3 separate regions of the Homo sapiens genome follow, and regions 1 and 3 are each linked to region 2. Evidence: promoter capture Hi-C in 16 types of primary human blood cells and fetal thymus (Javierre and others, 2016). All regions are on one chromosome and are shown on one strand. Each heading gives the region's core, a stretch centred on a gene start or on the middle of the fragment in contact. The rest is flanking DNA. Distances are from core to core; before and after follow the strand shown.

Evidence for each region. The method cuts DNA at HindIII sites, captures the fragments that hold promoters and counts their contacts. A CHiCAGO score of 5 or more calls a contact.
Region 1: a contact is called between a fragment that was not itself captured here and the fragment with the promoter of DNAJC2 in region 2, in 1 of 17 cell types (naive CD8 T cells). The highest score is 6.2, in naive CD8 T cells.
Region 3: the fragment with the promoter of CBLL1 here is called in contact with the fragment with the promoter of DNAJC2 in region 2 in 2 of 17 cell types (total CD8 T cells and activated CD4 T cells); the score reaches 7.1 in total CD8 T cells.

The regions. Positions count from the first base shown.
Region 1 is chr7:107,166,337-107,169,450 of GRCh38, reverse strand. It overlaps HBP1 (HMG-box transcription factor 1), which reads right to left and starts at 448. Exons shown (of 11, transcript NM_012257.4): 1 at 266-448. RefSeq lists silencers at 229-328, 347-920 and an enhancer at 639-798. The HindIII fragment of the contact is 837 bases long and covers 920-1,756 here.
Region 2 is chr7:103,343,234-103,346,345 of GRCh38, reverse strand. It overlaps DNAJC2 (DnaJ heat shock protein family (Hsp40) member C2), which reads left to right and starts at 1,579. Exons shown (of 17, transcript NM_014377.3): 1 at 1,579-1,787. The coding sequence starts at 1,724. It also overlaps a transcript of PMPCB not described here. RefSeq lists an enhancer at 1,397-1,636. The HindIII fragment of the contact is 5,590 bases long and covers 1-2,164 here.
Region 3 is chr7:107,742,677-107,745,426 of GRCh38, reverse strand. It overlaps CBLL1 (Cbl proto-oncogene like 1), which reads right to left and starts at 1,285. Exons shown (of 6, transcript NM_024814.4): 1 at 1,251-1,285. The coding sequence starts at 1,263. CBLL1-AS1 (CBLL1 antisense RNA 1) reads left to right here and starts at 846. Exons shown (of 2, transcript NR_144537.1): 1 at 846-1,054; 2 at 2,024-2,674. RefSeq lists enhancers at 811-990, 1,341-1,560, 1,658-2,176, 2,177-2,696 and a silencer at 1,601-1,800. The HindIII fragment of the contact is 5,122 bases long and covers 1-2,494 here.

The DNA.
Region 1 (3,114 bases), core at 89-2,588, 3.8 Mb before region 2:
GGAACTTCGCCCTCCCCCTGCCTCCTCCCGGCCCCCGCCCGAGACCCCCTAGCGCCGCCGCCCCGAAGCCCAGGTGAGCTCGCGGGAGACGCTGCTCCGGTGGGCTCGCCGCGGGCACCAATCGAACGGTTAACTGCCCCCACCCCAAGGGCAACCCTCCGAGAAGAAGGAACGAGGACCCGAGCCCTCCAGTCTGCCCAATCCCCCGCGCTCCTGCCCCTCCCTTCCCCACCCCCACCTCTTCCCTAACTGAAAGACAACAAACCTGCCGCGAAGTGCCGGCAGCCCAGGCGCGGGCCGCTCCGGCCACGACAACACCACCAGCAGCTCTCGTACCCCCTCTCCGACCGACGTCGGCCTCCCCCGCGCGGGTTACTGCTCCCGCGGCAGCTCTTACTCCTCAACCGAAACTTTCCTACTTACCAAACCCGTCGCCATTACCAAGTCTTTCAAGCTTCGTCTTCCCCCTCCCCTCAACCCCCTGGGGGTTGAGCCCCGCCCAGCTCTTTCGCCCTCTTATTGGACTGCAGAACTGCCATTCGGTTCTTCCCCTTTCCCATTGGGTGGTACCGTGGTCCGTCTCGGGGGGCGGGCATGTATTGACTTTTGTGTTGTGTTTACTGGAGAAGATGGCATGTCAATCACAAGAGTAAGTGCTTCGGATTGGACTATTGCCGAGAGTCCGGGGACCCAAGCCAAACTTTGTCCCCGAAATGGATTGTGGGTTCGTAGTCTCAAGCCTTGGTCCTTGGCTGTGGGAGACTGCTGGCCGGGGAAGAGCTGGACTACGTATCCCAGAGGCGCTCGCACAGCGCAGTCTTGATAGTAAACAAGAGTCATAGGGACACGTGTATCAGCTCGTTTGTTTTGGTGTCTGGGACAAAAGGGAGGGGGCGGAGGAAGGGAGTGTTTTAAAGCTTGGGCCTCTTCTTTTCCTCCGGGCCTCTGCTAACACTTAGAGCGGCCCAAGCCTCTTGCAGCACCCAATCCGGGCCATAAACAGCCAGAGTTGCTCGCTGCTCAAGAGTTTGGCAGGAGGCCAGGGTATTGTTTTAGTGCGAGGGGAAGGAGATGACTGCACCAGCGGAAGTACTGCAGGCTAGCGAGGGACTTGATCACCCACAAATCACGGCCCCAGGCACGAAGGGGTCGAAAGTGATGCTGGGGGCTGCACTGGCAGTGGGAAGAACTAGAAGTCCTTTCTCTTGTGCCTTGCCTCACCACTCCCAGGACAGCAACTTGAGATTGCCTTGTCAGCTCTGTTCAGTTCACCTAAGTTTGTTGAGCCGCCACCTAAGTGCCAGGAAGAGTGAGGCTGGGGGATGGACTGTGAGCAAGCGAGAAGCTGGAGTCTAGAGAATTTACAAAGCGGGGGCGGGGGCGGGCGATTACGAAATTGAGGCAAGTTAAAGCGGCATTTTCCATACTGATTAGTATGCTCGTTGGTTAACGTAATACAAAGGGTGTAATGTATGACGTAAACTGATTTAATTTGTGAATCATTATCAGTAAGTTTCTCTGGTGAGTTTTATTAACCCTCTTTTCCTTCTAGACGTTTTCTCATTGATGAAAGAAACTGTCTTTCCACTTCATTTCCACTAGGAGTTCCTCAAGTTACGAATTCTCTGACTCACCAGAGACGCTTCCCTGCTTTATAGTTAACTTCTCTTTAAACATGGCTGTCCATTCACAGTCGGCTGCATCTAGTCAATAATTGGTGTCTTTACCATTCACATTACAAAGGCATGATTAAGCTTTTTCCCCCCTTTGAACCTTTAGTGTTTAATCATTTAAATTGTGCTTTAGATTTTCTAACTTTAGATCACTAAATATATGCTTAGAATTAAGATGAGGAAAACCTACATTAGTAAGAAATCTGTAAAAGCAAACCTTTGGACAGAGCCAGAAATCACACAGCTAGTTATTTCTTTAAAACCTCCTGCATTTCTTGGATTTTTAAATATACCTGAAAGCCGCGTAACAAATCAAGAAATCCAAAATAAGCCCCCACATGTTGAAATCGAGTTTAAAATTCTTGAGAATTCCCCATTTGAATCCGTGAAGTGAAATTATAAAGTAGTCCTCCCGTGTAATCAAATACTTACTTTCTATGTTCACAAATAGTAATAAAGCATTCTATTTTTTATTAAAATAATTCAGAGGAGAGCCAACAGAATGCTTAATTTTTTCCCTGAGGAAAAAGGACAGGATTTGAATTTATCATCTTTCAGAAATTATTAGTGACTCAAAGAAATGAATGTCTCTGCTACTTTGTGTATGCTTTTTTTTTTTTTTTTTTTTTTTACAATGGAGGGTCATCGTGTACTAGAATAGAAAATATAAACTCTACTCCAACATGTAATTTCTTGACAAAAAAGAAAAATCTGTGAAGTTCACCTAATTATTTAAAATTGTTTTGAGATATTTATGTCTAACTCCTCCTAGAAAACTAAAAAACTTTTCTCTTAAAAAAAAAAAAAAAAAAGAGCTGGCAAGAGATTGACATACTGCTTTACCCCTCTCCAGTACACAAACTGTGAGATCTGCTTTCAGCTAAACCTTGTTTTTAAAAGTTAAACTATTTTAAAGTTTTTACCAAATGCCTTAGTGGTGATTTTTTTTATCGGGGGACACCGGAAATGGGGAAAAAAAATTCAACTTTAGATCCAGATATTGTACAATATGTTACAAATAATAATTTATCCTTTAATAGCTCCATAAAGCCTTTTCCATTCATTCAGAAACGTTTAGTTCCATTTTTTGACCACTGTGCCAATTATTGAGAATAAAAAGATAGAAAACATTTTTTGCACACTTTTTCTCATTTTTATCCAAGTCTTTAATATGAGTTAAATTTAGATAGTTTAGTCACAACTGATTAAATACTAGTATTAGAATTCGCTACACCTTTAAGTGGACACTTAGTCCAATCTTCTGACTTCCGTGGGGGGCTAAATGACCACATTAGTAGCTTATGTGTATTTACCAGAGACATCATCATTAATTGAGTGACCAATAAAACTAGCCAACTTATAAGCCAGAACAAAGATCAAAGTACAAAACTAGTAAGATCTCCTTGGAAATTTTTACATGTGCTAATTATACTCTCAGACT
Region 2 (3,112 bases), core at 330-2,829:
GCCTGGCCAACATGGCTAAACCCCGTCTCTACTACAAATACAGAAATTAGCTGGGCGTGGTGGCACGCACCTGTAATCCCAGCTACTCGGGAGGCTGAGGCAGGAGAATCGCTTGAACCTGGGAGGCAGAGATTGCAGTGAGCCGAAATCAGGCCACTGCACTCCAGCCTGGGCGACAGAGCAAGCCTCTGTCTCAGAAAAGAAAACAACAAAAAAACAAAAACCCATGTTAGAGTTAATGGTAAAATTGAATGGGAGGAGGTGTGAGGAAAAAAATATATTAATATGAAGAAAGTGGAGTCAGGTTACTTTGCACCTTGGAGCATGTTTTAACAGTGGTTGCATTAGTAGGGATCAGGAAGAGGTTTTGGGGCAGAAGATTAGTTCAATTTTTTTTTTTTTAAAGACGGGGTCTCACTGTTACCCAGGCTGGAGCGCAATGGTGTGATCTCAGCTCACTGCAACCTCCACCTCCCGGCCTCAACGATCTTCCCACCTCAGCCTCCCTTAGTTCAATTTTTGAAAAGTCAGTTTTGAAGTGACAATTTTATCATGCAGCAGATATACAGACCAATTAAATGTATTTAATTGGCCTGGCACAGTGACTCACGCCTCTAATCCCAGAGTTTTGGGAGACTGAGGCAGGAGGATCCCTTGAGGCCAGGAGTTCAAGACCACCTTGGGCAACATAGTGAGACCCTGTCTCTACAAAAAAAAATATACATATATATATATATAATATATTTAAAAACTTTAATTGTGAAAATATAATGAAATTAGTAAGTTATTTTCTAATTTACTAATTTCTGGTGGTCCTTGCTAAAGAGTGGCATATCAAGTTTATTTTATTGAACCTGTTTCAGATACTGCTGTTGGGGGTGAGCCTTTACCCACTGTTTGTTTTTGCTAGTTTTTGCTTTTGACTGCAGTCTTAGAAGGAAGCATATAGTAGGAATACAATTGATTTTATTATACATTAAAAAATTAAGTCCCAGAGTCCTATAATTGGGAATATCTTGAATAAAAACTTCATTAGAACAAGGTAAAAATATTGCTGGCCTTGGAATACAATCTAACACACTAGAGAGAGGTTTCTTCTCCAAGCGAGTATTAAAAGATATAATGCAGGTAAATTAGTAATAGCACGACAAATATTAGCTGCTATTATCATCATCAAGTTAAACACAAATGTATCACAAATACACGTACGTAATTCTCCGCAAATGTATATACTAGTCGTCGATACTGGTTCATACAGGTATTTTCATTTTTTACTTAAAAGTATAGCGCTCCTGGGAAAATCACTGATTAGGTTCAGATTAATACATAAAGCAGTAAGAACTTAAAGATAATATAAAAAGAACTGCTTTTAAAGGTTATGTTCTATGTATTGCACTGGGACGTGGAATATAATCCTTTTTACAGGAAAACTGATGCGCCTAGGAACCATTCTCTCGTGCGACTTGGTCTCCAGCCGGATCTCAGTCAGTATAGAACTAGGTTACCGCACACGTTGGCGGGGGTGGGAGGGTGTGAGACTGGCCTCCACACCACGAAAGATCCATCCCGGAAGTGCTTACTGGTCGTCTCCATGCGCCGGTTCCTGGGCGTCTTAGAGCCAAGGCGCGAGGCTCGGAGTGAGAGGTAGAGCTGGAGGGGACCCTAAGCGCCCTCCGCCCGGGACGTGAGCCGCTGCGCCCACCGGGCTAGACCCGGCGCCATCATGCTGCTTCTGCCAAGCGCCGCGGACGGCCGGGGCACCGCCATCACCCACGCTCTGACCTCTGGTAAGTGCCCACCCAACCTCGGTTCCTTCTCACCTCAGCTGCCCCTGCCTCAGTCCTCCGCCTCGGCAACCCTGGGCTCTCTCTACCCTTGACCCTGGCGACTAGCCCCGGGGCCGTATGGGGCCGTGACGAGTGCCTTTTTGCTCCGTGTTTTAAAGTAATCCTACCCTAGATTAGAAGGAAGGAGGGTGAGGGGTGCCTTCCTTTTGCTCCTACCGTTGCTTCCTCCTCTCGCCGCTGCTGACTCATGGATTGGGCTGAGCATTTCGGGACGGAACCCCCCAGCACCCCAGAAAGGTTCTCATAAGCATCTCCTTGCCTACGGTGGAAAGACTACGCGCAGCGAGCACCCCACGTGCCTGGGGTCGTACAAAGCTTTGCTACTGGCGCTCTCTTAAACAACTTTCTCCCTCTCTACGTTTGCTCCGGCCTTGTTTTTTAAATGTCACAACTCAGACACCGCTCCTCATACTCGGTGTTCAAAGACTGTGCTGCTGAAAAGATCCGCGTAGACTTTGAAAGGCAGTTATTACAAGTGAAACTTGTCCTGCTGCTGTAGGTTTTAGTTTTATGGCCCAGGACAGTCATGAGTATTGTAAACTTAAGAGTCTTCAGGTCCAGTGATCTACAGTAATTCCCATAGCCAGTCACATAGGCGCTTGTTGAATGTGATTTTGAACATAACCCATGGCACGTGTTGCATTTATGTGTCTCCGTGTGCCTCTTACAACTAGAGCAAAAGGCTTAAAAGGCAGTGTTCTTAAAAGCCACACACCCATACTACACAGGTAGTACCTTTTTGACAGTGTTTTAATCCTCTCCTGTGTAAGGTGGAGGAAATCTTAAAATAAGTTGTTCAGGGATTTTCCTTTTTTGAATTGCTAGTATACACATGTACAGTGATTTACCCCCACTTCCCAGGAATAGATGATACCTTTACTACAAGTTTGTAATTTCAGAGAGTTTCTGTGGTCTCATTCAAGCTTCCTAGGAACTGAATGAGATAAATAGGTATTGTTCCCATTTTACAGGTGAAGACATCCTGATTCATTTCAGGTCACATAGCCACTGTCAGACCTAGTCTAAAACCCAGAGTGTCTGGTTTCAGATTGAGAGCTTGTTCCACTACAGCTTAGCTGCATTAGTAAATTCCCATTTGCTGCTTGGAAAATTGCTTTCAGGACAAATTCTTGTTAGTGAATTCTTAAAATTTTTAAGAGCTATATTCAAGATTTTAATAATTAAGACAGTTTGAGTTGTCTGGGTGCGGTGGCTCACGTCTATAATCCCAGCACTTTGGGAGGCCGAGGCAGGTGGATCACCTG
Region 3 (2,750 bases), core at 36-2,535, 4.4 Mb before region 2:
GGCTGCAGCTGACTTCACTGTATCTTCCTACCTCAGTGCCTTCGCACTTGCTGGAAATGCTCTTCCTCTTGCTTTTTTCCCAGGGCTGGGTTCTTCTCATCCATCAGATCTTAGCTTCCACAAAGACCATTCCTAACAACCCTCTCTGAAATTTCGTCCTATGAATCTCTCCACAGCACTCGTTTATTTTCTTCAAAATAATCCGCAAACATTAAAAAAATAATAAATTTAAAAAAAAAGAACGTATTGTCTGTGTTCCTCCATAAAACAGAAGTTCTATCACGGACCTGGTCCGTCTCGTTTACCATTCCATCTTCCATCTCCCGACCTATAGATATCTGCATGTATCTTGCATAAATAAACATACACACCTACATAAATAAACATACACACCTAATTATATAACCAAGTAGATATCTGATGAGTGAGGACAACTCAATACTCAAGAAAAAGCCTTTTTTTCTCTATTTGTGATACGGTCGCTATAAATGTATGGGGCACATAACTCCAAGAGCACTCATTCAATATCCAAGAACCACAAAGAAGCAAAAGCCAGAAAATACATAACAAAGGGTGGAGCCACTCTTACTTGGAGAAAAGTATGAGAATGCCTTGATTTTAAACTCCTCTTTGTAAATACCCTCAAATGATGAGTAAGGACCTCAGCCGAAGCGCGGGGCATGCTTTTGGTTTAGGTAGAAAAACTGCTCCGAGTTTGATTCCAAAAACTCTATCAGACTCCCTTCTTTCACCCCTCTAGTCCATAAAGGATCGGAGAGACGACAGGGGGTGACCACTGCAGCACCCGCCCAAAGCTGACTGAGACAGCAGGAAGTCTCCAACCCATTCTCGCCCGTCCACTCCCAGCGTAAAGAGGATTCCGCGACTCGGAGACCGCAATCTACCCGCCAGTCTCCATAACGTAGGCCAGAGCAGCTGGGCTAAATAAAACAGAGCCGGGGCTCTCCCTTCCCGAAGGCCTACATCGCCCACTGGTCCGGGCTCGGAGCTCAGCAGAACCAGAGTAGGAGCGGTTGTTGCCGGCACGGAGGAGGTAGGTACCACACCAGACGGTAGGCCAGGAAACCGCAGGCCCCTGCCGGGCACAGGAAGGCATCTGTGAGATTTCTTCTCACTGCCACACCCTAGTGTTGTGGGGCGAGCATAATCCCTTTTGCCTGCTGTGCGACCAGCCCCAGGCCGGCCAAGGGGGCTTGGAACCGGGACCCCCACTGCCTCCGCCTCCTTACCAGTGTGATCCATGATTCGGCTCGCAGAGCACAGTGGGAGCGGAAGTCAACCGCGCCGGAGTCGCAGCGAGCGCGTGCGCACTGCCTTCCGGAGGCCGGGAGGCGGAAGTCCAAGCAGGTTGTCCCAATTTTGGCCTGCAAAGACTTCCTTCTCTCGCCTCTACTATCCAACTCCTGTGAGGGACTCAGGCATAGTTCGGGCGGAGGCAGAAAGAGCGAGCGCGCGAAGAACTTCGGTATTGAGGTTGCTAAGGCTTCTCCTCATGTGCTTCAAGAGAAAGTAGCCTTTAACTGTGGAAAGGACACCAGGGGGACCGGGGAAGGGGAGAGCAGTGGTAAAAATGAGCCAGAAGCAGATAAGGCGACTGCCCGCCCCGCGGAGAGCTGCCTTCTGGGACTTGTAGTGCGCGGGGCCCCCGGAGCCGGCTGGCTGCGCAGGCTCGGCCGTTGCGCTGGCCCCACCCCGGCGGGCGGAGTAACGGTTTGGAATCCCCCGGGGTCAGCGAGCGCTTGTTTCCTCCGCCTGGTGTAGCAAAAGTGTAAACACGCGCGCTCCGGAAGGCGCCCTCCAGTGGGAGGTTGCTCAGGGGATGGCGGAGCTGTGAAACTCGGAGCTAGAAGGAAAGTCTCAACGCTTGTCTAAATTTTGCTTTGTCGTGACGAGCTACCTAGACCCACGCAGAGCTAACTTGGTATATGCCCCGGTTCCCATCTCTTAAGTCTCTTTACAGTTGAAACACGTTTATAATGCTTGACTGCCACTCACTTTCTAGGGAGAGCGCTTGTGACGCTACGAACCTCTCGAACACCTGACGACTGGGCGCCAGGGCCGGATGGAGGGTGGAGAGCCAGTGCGGCGCAGCTGCCTCCTCTTAACGGGGACACCTTGCAGGAATGTGCGGAGTGGAGCTAACGGGAGCGGATAGAAACCGAGGGAGGGGAAGAGAGCGCGAAGGCTTGGCCGGAAGGAGAGGTTAAAAAGGAAAGGCCTAAAATGAGGAAGAGAGTTACCACAACAAGCAGTACCTAGTTCCAGTTCTTGGTCCCAGGAGTTTGTGGTTGTTGCTGCTTTCATCTTCCTCAGCCAACACAAAAGGAAAGTGCCAAGGGGCGATTCCTAGGACCTTCAGTGCAGTCTCCACCTTGCGGACTTGGCTCATTTGTGTCCACTCCTTTCTCCAGCCTTTTACACTTGATGCTCTTGGATGAATAGAAAGGAGCACAATTAATGGAAAACACAAGCTTGGGAGTCAAGGGATTTGGGTTCTATTCTTGTCCTCCCTTGGTGACGACATCATTACCTTGGGTTATTCAAGCTTTCAGTGCCAGAGTTCCTATATCAATAAAAGATTATTACATTGACCTCTTAGAGAAATGTTTTCATGGTACTGAATTGCAAATAAAGTATGTGTAGCGATGTGTTATATCTTTGTAGTTGTACGGTATTATTTGTGAATCATGCTGTGATGATCAGTGCGATTTAAGTGCACCATGTTATTT